2 separate regions of the Homo sapiens genome follow, and region 2 is linked to region 1. Evidence: promoter capture Hi-C in human tissues and cell types (Jung and others, 2019). All regions are on one chromosome and are shown on one strand. Each heading gives the region's core, a stretch centred on a gene start or on the middle of the fragment in contact. The rest is flanking DNA. Distances are from core to core; before and after follow the strand shown. Region 1 holds the start of ZNF816 (zinc finger protein 816). Region 2 has its middle 8.8 kb from the start of ZNF836.

What was found. Contacts are between HindIII fragments. The study calls those that stand out against the background at their distance.
Region 2: a contact is called between a fragment that was not itself captured here and the fragment with the promoter of ZNF816 in region 1, in 1 of the 25 tissues and cell types used here (spleen).

What each region holds. Positions count from the first base shown.
Region 1 is chr19:52,961,091-52,966,229 of GRCh38, forward strand. ZNF816 (zinc finger protein 816) reads right to left here and starts at 1,791. Exons shown (of 4, transcript NM_001202457.3): 1 at 1,637-1,791. It overlaps ZNF816-ZNF321P (ZNF816-ZNF321P readthrough), which reads right to left and starts at 1,791. Exons shown (of 4, transcript NM_001202473.2): 1 at 1,627-1,791. RefSeq lists an enhancer at 1,509-1,758 and a silencer at 1,819-2,018. The HindIII fragment of the contact is 7,894 bases long and covers 1-5,139 here.
Region 2 is chr19:52,178,109-52,182,801 of GRCh38, forward strand. No RefSeq gene overlaps it. Among named protein-coding and RNA genes, the nearest start is that of ZNF836, 8.8 kb to the left of the region's middle. The HindIII fragment of the contact is 6,111 bases long and covers 106-4,693 here.

The DNA of each region.
Region 1 (5,139 bases), core at 541-3,040:
TGAATGTACAGGCACGTTAAAAGGATCTTATTTGTATAATTCCACTCAATACAAGGTACGTAGCCCAGGAAATGACAAACCTACTATGGGTTATAACCCATCTAAGCCTCCTGCAACCACCGTTTTTCAAATAAGATTAAGAACTGGTCCTTTCCTAGGTGACACAAGTAAAATAATAACTAGAACAGAAGAAAAAAGAATCCCCAAACAAGAAACTTTAAATTTGATGCTTGTGCAGCCATTAATAGTAACAAGCTCAGATTAAGATGTGGCTCTCTTAACTAAGAAAGGAGCTGCACAGTAGAAAATAAATGTTTGTCATGAGGCAGAGGTCTGTGAAAATTTGCCTGTTGCCCATGTGTTATTTAGGCTACTTAGAAAAATGACAAAAAAGACCCGGTTCACTTTCAAAAAAAAGAAGCCAACCCCTCCTGTGCTAGCAGTCACTGTAACCCACTAGAACTAATAATCACTAATTCCCTAGACCCCCGTTAGAGAAAAAGAGAAGGTGTAATCCTGACGGTCAATAGGACAAGGGTAACCCCCCAAGTTGCCATTTTAGTCCGAGGGGAGGTCCCCAGGCCCTTTCCCAAACCAGTGTTTCAAGCCTTTTATAATGAGCTAAATCTGCCAGCACCAGAGCTTCCAAAAAAGACAAGGAACTTGTTTCTCCAGTTAACGGAAAATGTAGCTCATTCCCTCAATGTTGCTTCTTGTTATGTACGCGGAGGAACTACTGTTGGAGACCGATGGCCTCAGGAAGCCCGAGAGTTGGTGCCCACTGATCCAGTTCCTCACACAATTCCAGCTCAGAAGGCCCAAACTAGCAACTTCTAGGTCCTAAAAACCTCAGTTATTAGACAATACTATGTAGCTAAGGAAAGAAAAAACTTCAGCAACCCCGTAAGAAAGCTCAATTGTCTAGGACAGAAGTTGTATACAACAGCACAACAAGGACAGTCACTTGGTGAGGCTTAAACCACACTGAAAAGAACTCATTACGTAAATTTTCTAAATTACAGACTGCCTAGGCTCATCCAGAATTTCATTGAGACTGGACGGCCCCCGCTGGACTATACTAGTCCAGGCACAGAGACTATACTATACTATACTAGTCCAGGCACAGGCTATACTAGTCTGTAGGCACAGAGACCCATCTCCAACAACAAAGAAGAAAAGTGAAAATCTGGGTCCTGGCTCTGGGAATCTAAGGCCAATTAATGTGAACTTTGCAAAACTAGACCAAAAGGAATAACCCCATCTCCCCACCCGTAGTAACAAAGGATCAAAGGGTACTCTCCCTGTAGCCCTCCCACTTCCACCACGTCTCAGATGGAAAGGGAAAGAGCCCAGGAGTGGCCACAAAGCACCGGCCACCCTGGGGCTGCGGGGCTGCAACGCTGCGCTCCAGGGGCCGACTAGAGCGAGGCTGGGAAGCGCTCTTGCCCAGGGCAAGAATCCAGCTCCGGGTGAGGACTTGAAACAGCGCGAGGCGGGAGGACGCGTCAGAAAGGGTTTTGCTAAGGAAAGTTTCGCGACAGGAGGTGTCTGCACGGCCCCACTGCAGAAAGACCGGGGACGGGACCAGCCTCAGGGCAACTTTAAACTCAAAAGGAAGCGACTCACGGACTCTCACCCGGACGTTTCAATTTGCTCTGGGTTGAGAAAAGAGGGGCCGGAACCTGCAGGTCTGTGGGGACCCCACGTCCCCTATATAGCAGCACCAGACAACTAGGAAACGCACACGCCGCCGTGCAACTTTCAGTCCACGCCATCCGCTTCCGGGTCTGTGCCAATCGGCGCAGGACAGAAGCGGGACCTGGGCCAGATCCCCGAGAGGTGGGCGGGGCCTGGGCGAGGCCGGGGCGGGGTGCAAAGGACAAGGGGCCCGGCGCGGAAGAGAAGAGTCTTGGGCTGGGAGGAGTCCGCGGGGGCGGGAAAGGGGCGGGGCCTGAGCTTTTCTCCATCTCGCTCTCCGCGCCTCTGTTTTCAAGGTTTTAGAGGTGAAACCCGCCAGTGAGGCTGGAGCAGCTCAGCAGTCAGGGAAATAGTACCTCCCTGAGAAGTCGCCGTGTGGCGGTAATTGGATCCGGGAAAGTTCCTTGCTATTGAAATTTATTTTAGCAATTTAATTCCAAAGCCTGGAAGTTGTCTACGGCAGGAATGCAAACTAGAATGCGAAATGCAAAGCCTTGCCTGAGCGAAAGGTACAATTTCATGCTGACGGTCCACAGAACAGAATAGAAATCCTCTCCCTTTCAATTCTCCATTCACTGGAGTGGGAGAGTCCACACTGTGCTCAGCTCCTGAGACTTCCCTAGGGCCACCGTCTGGGGTGCGGAGCAGAGGAGTGTGCTTAAACACAGCAGGGATGCGGGCGGGGTGGCAGGAGTCTGGGGTCCCCGCTACTCAGGAAGCAGGGGCGAGAGGATCGCTGAGCCTGGAGTTCCAGGCCAGCCTGGGCGACAAAGTAAGACCCTCTATCCCAGAGCTCCCTCCTCCGTCTCAATAAACAAAAAAGTGATTTAAAAAAAGCACTGACATTGTAACAGTGCATATAAGTTGCCCAGTTGTTTCTTACGTTTATTATTTCATGCTGCACTTAAAATGAGTTATTTTTGTCGTGGAAAAGAATCAAACTGTAAAATATCTTAAGAGATTTATTCTAAGCTAAATATGAATGACCCTCAGGAGGTCCTGAGAACATGTGTCCAAGGTGATGGGGAACAGCTTGTTCTTAGACATTTTAGGGAGGCATTAGACATCAATCAAATACATTTAAGAAATACGCTGCTTTGGTTCAGAAAGGAGGGGCAACTCAAAGCGGGGACTTCTGGGCTACAGGTAAATTGAAACATTTTCTGATTGACAATTGGTTGAGTTTGTCTAAATACCTGGGATCAACGGAGAGGAAATGTTCACGTTAAGGTAAAAGATTGTGGAGACCAATGTTGTTTTCAAGTCTTCTATTGGCTGCCCTTAGAGATAATAGATGATAAGTGTTTTCTATTCAGACCTTTAAACAGTGCGAGATTCTTACTTAATCTCTTCAGGATTGGTAGGGCCTAGAAGAAAAAGATCTAGCTATGTTAACAGAGATTCTTTACAAATGCACATGTACCCCTCACAAAGAACAGCTTTGCAGGACCATTTCAAAATATGGCACAGAAACATGTTTTGGGGTAAAATATTTTGACTTTCTTCTTTGTCACGTTATTCCAGAGTCAGACTGGAAAGTAAGACAGGATATATAGGACTAAATAAAACCCATCTGATGAGTATTTATGGTTTGTAGGGCATGACTCCCCAGACCCTTTAGATAGGAATTTGGGCAAGAGAAAAAAATTAGACCTTGGTCCTCATTCTCAAATTCTTTTTTTAAAAAATAATTCCTAAGTGTATTGTAATATCAAATTCACTTTACGTGCCTTCTGAAAATAAGTAGAAAATGTACTTTTTATCTTCAAGTTGTAATTTTTTTTTCCCTAGAAACAGGACCTAGTTCTGACACCCAGGATGGAATGCAGTGGTGGGAACACTGCCCACTGCAACCTCAACCTCTGGGGCTCAAGCAATCCTCCCGTCTCACCTCCCAACTAGCTGGGGCCACAGGCCCTCACCACCAGGCCTGGCTAATTTTTTAATATTTTGTAGAGTCGGGGGTCCACTATGATGCTTAGGCTGGCCTTGAACTCCTGTACTCAAACAATCCTCCCACCTTAGCTTCCCAAAGTGTTGGGATTAAAGGCGAGCTACCACACCCATCCAATTGTAATCTATTTTGGGTGTTTTCTTTGTTGTTCTCTCCTAAGTGTTCTATCAGGTGTGAACAACAAAGGCTGTAAAATAGGCAGTCTTCAAACATTGGGATTTATTTTCATATAGAGAATAATTATGAGATATTACTAAGGATACATTGCAGTCAGGTTATTCTGTTTTACGTGGGCCCTGAAGAAAATATAACTAAATTACAAAATTGGCTGGGTGTGATGGCTCACACCTGTAATCCCAGCACTTTGGCAGGCCTAGGCGAATGGATCACCCTGAGGTCAGGAGTTTGAGATCAGCCTGGCCAACACAGCGAAACCCCATCTGTACTAAAAATACAAAAATTAGCTGGGCATGGTGGCATGCGCCTGTAATCTCAGCTACTCAAGAGGTTGAGGCAGGAGAATTGCTTGAGCCCAGGCAGCAGAGGTTGCAGTGAGCTGACATCTCACCATTGCACTCCAGCCTGGGCAACAGAGTGAGACTGCATCTCAAAAAAAGAAAAAAAAAATTATAAACTTTTACATCACCGCATTTCTGCATGCAATAATTTTATGGCAATATCTGTAAGTTAACATGTACTATGAACTATATTTTTCACTCACATCCCTAGTTATCGAAGGTTTCATTTATCAAATACTAGTAATTAGCTAAAACATAATTATGTTTAGGAAGAAATTAGCATATCTAAAATATTAGCAAGTTTAAAAAAGCATAATGTGGCCAGGGATGGTGGCTCGTGCATGTAATTCCAGCATGATGGGAGACCGAAGCAGAAAGATAGCTAGTGGCCAAAAGTTGGAGACCAGCCCAGGCACATGGTGAAACCTCATCTTTATATTTTAAATATTTATGTATCTATGTATTCATTTATTCATCTTTGAGATGGAGTTTCATTCTCATTGCTTAGGCTGGAGTGAAATGGTGTGGTCTCGGCTCACTACAACCTCTGTCTCCTGGGTTCACGTGACTCTCCTGCCTCAGCCTCCCGAGTAGCAGGTATTACAGGCATATGCCACCATGCCTGACTAATTTTCTATTTTTACTAGAGACGGGGTACCTCCATGTTAGTCAGGCTGGTCTCGAACTCCCGACCTCAGGCGATCCACCCACCGCAGCCTCCCAAAGTGCTGGGATTAGAGGCCTGAGCCACCATACCCAGCCTCTATGTAGCTTTGTAAAAAATCCTTGTAGCTGTCTCTTTTAGGAATAAAATGGGAGGCAGGTTTGTCTGACACAGTTCCCAGCCTGACTTTTCTCTTTGGCTTAGTAATTTTTAAGCTTCTTTCACAACCTTCTGACAGACATAATGCTTTGACACACTGATATTGGTTTATATAGATTTTCCAAAACAGTAAAGTCCAAGGGTCT
Region 2 (4,693 bases), core at 1,911-4,410, 780 kb before region 1:
AAGTAAAAATGGCTAGCTCCTGCCTTAACTGATGACATTACCTTGCGAAACTCCTTCTCCTGGCTCAGAAGCTCCCCGACTGAGCGTCTTGTGACCCCCGCCCCTGCCCACAAGAGAACAACCCCCTTTGACTGTAATTTTCCACTACCTACCCAAATCCTATAAGACTGCCCCACCCCATCTCCCTTCTCTGACTCTCTTTTCGGACTCAGCCCACCTGTACCCATGTGATTAAACATCTTTACTTATTATTATTTTTTTTTCCCCGAGATGGAGTCTTGCTCTGTCACCTAGGCTGGAGAGCAGTGGCGTGATCTCGGCTCACTGCAACCTCCGCCTCCCGGGTTCAAGCCATTCTCCTGCTTCAGCCTCCCGAGTAGCTGGGATTACAGGTACCCGCCATCACGTCCGGCTAATTTTTTGTATTTTGTATTTAGGGGTTTCACCATGTTAGCCAGGATGGTCTCGATCTTCTGACCTTGTGATCCACCCGCTTTGGCCTCCCAAAGTGCTGGGATTACAGGCGTGAGCCACTACGCCCAGCAAAAAGCTTTATTGCTCACACAAAGCCTGTTGGTGGTCTCTTCACACGGACGCCCTTGACACCCAGCTAGTTTTTTTGTTTTTTGTTTTGTTTTGTTTTTGGAGACAGGGTCTCGCTCTGTCACCCAGGCTGGATTACAATGGTGGGATCATAGCTCAACCTCCTGGGCTCAAGTGACACTCCTGTCTCAGCCTCCTGAGTAGCTGGGAACACAGGCACACACCACCATGCCTGGCTAATTTTTGAATTTTTTTGTGGAGACGAAGTCTCACCATGTTGCCCAGGCTGTTCTCAAACCCCAGGGTCAAGTGATCCTCCTGCCTTGGCCTCTCAAAATGTTGGGATTACAGGCATGAGCCACCATATTGGGCCTTTTTTTTAAGAGAGAGATGGGGTCTTACTATGTTGTCCAGGTTGGCCTCAAACTTCTGGCCACAAGTGATCCTCCTGCCTTGGACTCTCAAACAGTTGGGATTACAGGTGTGAGCCACCGTGCCCAACCCTGGCCTTTATTAAAGACACTGCATGGCTGACACACAAGGAAAGAGATGCCATCCAGCTCCATGGGAAACAGTTTCGTAACCTTATTGTAATTATTTTTCTTCCAGTCCCTTCTGGGCTGCTCTTGCATTGGGGGCTTGAAGCTCTTCCCTTCTACCTGTGCAGCCCCTTACCCTGCTGTCCTGCTCTTCTCTGTCCTGGTTCCTCTCTCCCTCAACATTTTATGTTCTCCATCTATATAGGTCAATTTTCTCCCAAATCTATTCTCCAATTTGTACACTTAAACTCATTTTGATTTGGAGAATGTGAGTCTTCCCTTTAACATAATTGTGTCCCTTATGAGAGCAGTTAGTTTTAAATGGCAACATTATTTTGTTGCTTTAAGTTTTTTTTTTTTTTTTCCTAGGAATCTTAGCTCTGCAGGGTTCTTTGAGCTTTTAAAAACTACTTTATGGCCGGGCACGGTGGCTCATGCCTGTAATCCCAGCACTTCGGGAGGCCGAGGCGGGTGGATCACGAGGTCAGGAGATCGAGACCATCCTAGCTAACATGGTGAAACCCCGTCTCTACTAAAAATACAAAAAATTAGCCAGGTGTGGTGGTGGGCGCCTGTAGTCCCAGCTACTCCAGAGGCTGAGGTAGGAGAATGGTGTGAACCCGGGAGGCAGAGCTTGCAGTGAGCTGAGATCATGCCACTGCACTCCAGCCTGAGCGACAGAGCGAGACTCCGTCTCAAAAAAAAAAAAAAAATGCTTTATTAGGCTAGGTCTGGTGGCTCATGCCTGTAATACCAGCATTTTGGGAGGCCTAGGTGGCTGGATCACCTGACGTTGGGAGTTCGAGACCAGCCTGACCAACACAGTGAAACCCCATCTCTACTAAAAATACAAAATCAGCCAGACGTGGTGGCACATGCCTGTAATCCCAGCTACTTGGCAGGAGAATTGCTTGAACCCATGAGGTGGAGGTTGTAGTGAGCTGAGATCATGCATTGCTCTCCAGCCTGGGCAACAAGAGCAAAACTCCACCTCAAAAGAGAAAGACAGAAAGAAAGAAAAACTACTTTATTGAGGTATGATTGACATATAAAAAACTGTAGATATTTAATGTATACAACTTCACGTGTTTGGAAATAAGTATACATCCTTGAAACTATTATCACAACTAATGCCATAAACTTATCAATTGCCTCCAAAAATTCCCTTCCAGTTCATTTCTTCACTCCGCTTTGGTTTTGTTTGTCCTTTTGTGATAACATAAGATCTTATATAAGACCTACCCTTTCAGCAAAGTTTTAAATGTACAACGCCGTATTTGTTAATCATGTGCCCTATGTTGTACGGTAGGCCTCCAGAACTTGTTTATCTTGCAGGACTGAAACTTTGTACACTTTCCTTTTTGTTTTTGTTTTTTTGCTTTTTGCTTTTTTAATTTCCCCATGAAATTAAAAAAAAAAAGTTTCTCTTCATGAGAAACTTTGCACACTTTGACCAACACCTTTTCATTTCCTCCCACCTCTCAGCCTCTTGCAACCACTATTCTGCTTTCTGCTTCTGTGTGTTTGACTATTTTGGATTCCACATATAAATGAGGTCATACGGCCGGGCGCGGTGGCTCACGCTCCTAATCCAAGCACTTTGGGAGGCCGAGGCAGGCAGATCACAAGCTCAGGGGTTCAAAACCAGCCTGGCCAACATAGTGAAACCCAGTCTCTACTAAAAATAAAAAAACAAAATTAGCCGGGCATGGGGGTGGGCGCCTGTAGTCCCAGCTACTCAGGAGGGCAGGAGAATGGCGTGAACCCAGAAAGCAGAGCTTGCAGTGAGCTGAGATCGTGCCACTGCACTCCAGCCTGGGTGACAGAGCGACACTCTGTCTCAAAAAAAAAAAACATACGAGATCATATGTTATTTGTCTTTCTGTGTCTGTCTTATTTTACTTTGCATAATGTCCCTTAGGTTCGTCCAAGTCATCACAAATGACAAGATTTCCGTTTTTTTCCTTTTTATTTGAGACGCAGTTTCACTCTGTCGCCCAGGCTGGAGCGTAGTGGTGCGATCTTGGTCCACTGCAACTTCGACCTCCTGGGTTCAAGCAACTCTTCTGCCTCAGCCTCCCGAGTAGCTGGGATTACAGGTGTGCACCACCATGCCCAGCTAATTTTTTTGTATTTTTTTAGTAGAGATGCGGTTTCACCATGCTGGCCAGGCTGCTCTCGAACTCCTGACCTCATGTTCTGCCCGCCTTGGCCTCCCAATGTGCTTGGATTACAGGCGTGAGCCACTGTGCCTGGCCTGTTTTTTTTGAGACGGAGTTTCACTATTGTCACCCAGGCTGGAGTGCAATGTCCCTATCTCGGCTCACTGCAACCTCCAACTCCTGGGTTCAAGCGATTCTCCTCCCTCAGTCTGCCGAGTAGCTGGGATTAGAGGCACCCACCAACATGCCCGGCTAGTTTTTTGTATTTTTAGTAGAGACGGGGGTTTCACTATGTTGGCCAGGCTGGTTTTGAACTCCTGACCTCAGGTGATCCACCAGCCTCGGCCTCCCAAAGTGCTGGGATTACGGGCGTGAGCCACCACGCCTGGCCTAGATTTCCATTTTTTTAAAGGCTGAATAGTGTGTGTGTGTGTGTGTGTGTGTGTTTATCCATTTATCAGTGAACATTTAGGTTTTTTCCACATCTTGGTTATTGTGGCAATAAACATAGGAGTGCAGATCTCTCTCCAAGATATTGATTTCATTCCTTTGGATATATACCATGAAGGGGGATTGCTGAATCACCTGGTAGTTCTATTTTTAATTTTTTGAGGAACCTCCATAATGTTTTCTACCAATTTACATTCCCACCAATGGTGTACAAGGGTTCCCTTTCTCCACATCCTTGCCAATACTATTTCCCGTTAATATTATTTTGTTTTTGAGACAGTCTCGCTCTGTCGCCCAGGCTGGAGTGTAGTGGCACAATCTCGACTCACTGCAACCTCCACCTCCAGGGTTTAAGCGATTCTCCTGCCTCAGCCTCCTGAGTAGCTGGGACTACAGGCATGAGCCACCATGCCCGGCTGTTTTCTTTTGTTTTTTTGAGGCAGAGTCTTGCTCTGTCATACAGGCTGGAGTGCAGCGGCACATTCATGGCTCACTGTAGCCTCACCTCAATCTCCTGGACCGAACCAATCCTCCCACCTCAGCCTCCCAAGTACAGTAGCTGGGACCGCAGGCAGATGCCACTATACCCAGCTTATTTATTTATTTATGTTTGAGATGGAGTTCTGCTCTTGTTGCCCAGGCTGGAGTGCAGTGGCGTGATCTCGGCTCACTGCAACCTCCGCCTCCCGGGTTCAAGCGATTCTTCTGCCTCAGCCTTCCTGAGTAGCTGGGATTACAGGCATGTGCCCCCACACCTGGCTAATTTTGTATTTTTAGTATAGACGGGGTTTTTCCATGTTGGTCAGGCTCGTCTCGAACGCCCAACCTCAGATGATCCGCCACCTCGGCCTCCCAAAGTGCTGGGATTACAGGAGTGAGCCACCGCGCCCGGCTATTTCTATATTTTGAGACGGAGTCCCGCTCTATTGCCCAGGCTGGTGTGCAGTGATGTGTGATCTCAGCTCACTGCGACCTCCACCTCCTGGGTTCAAGCGATTC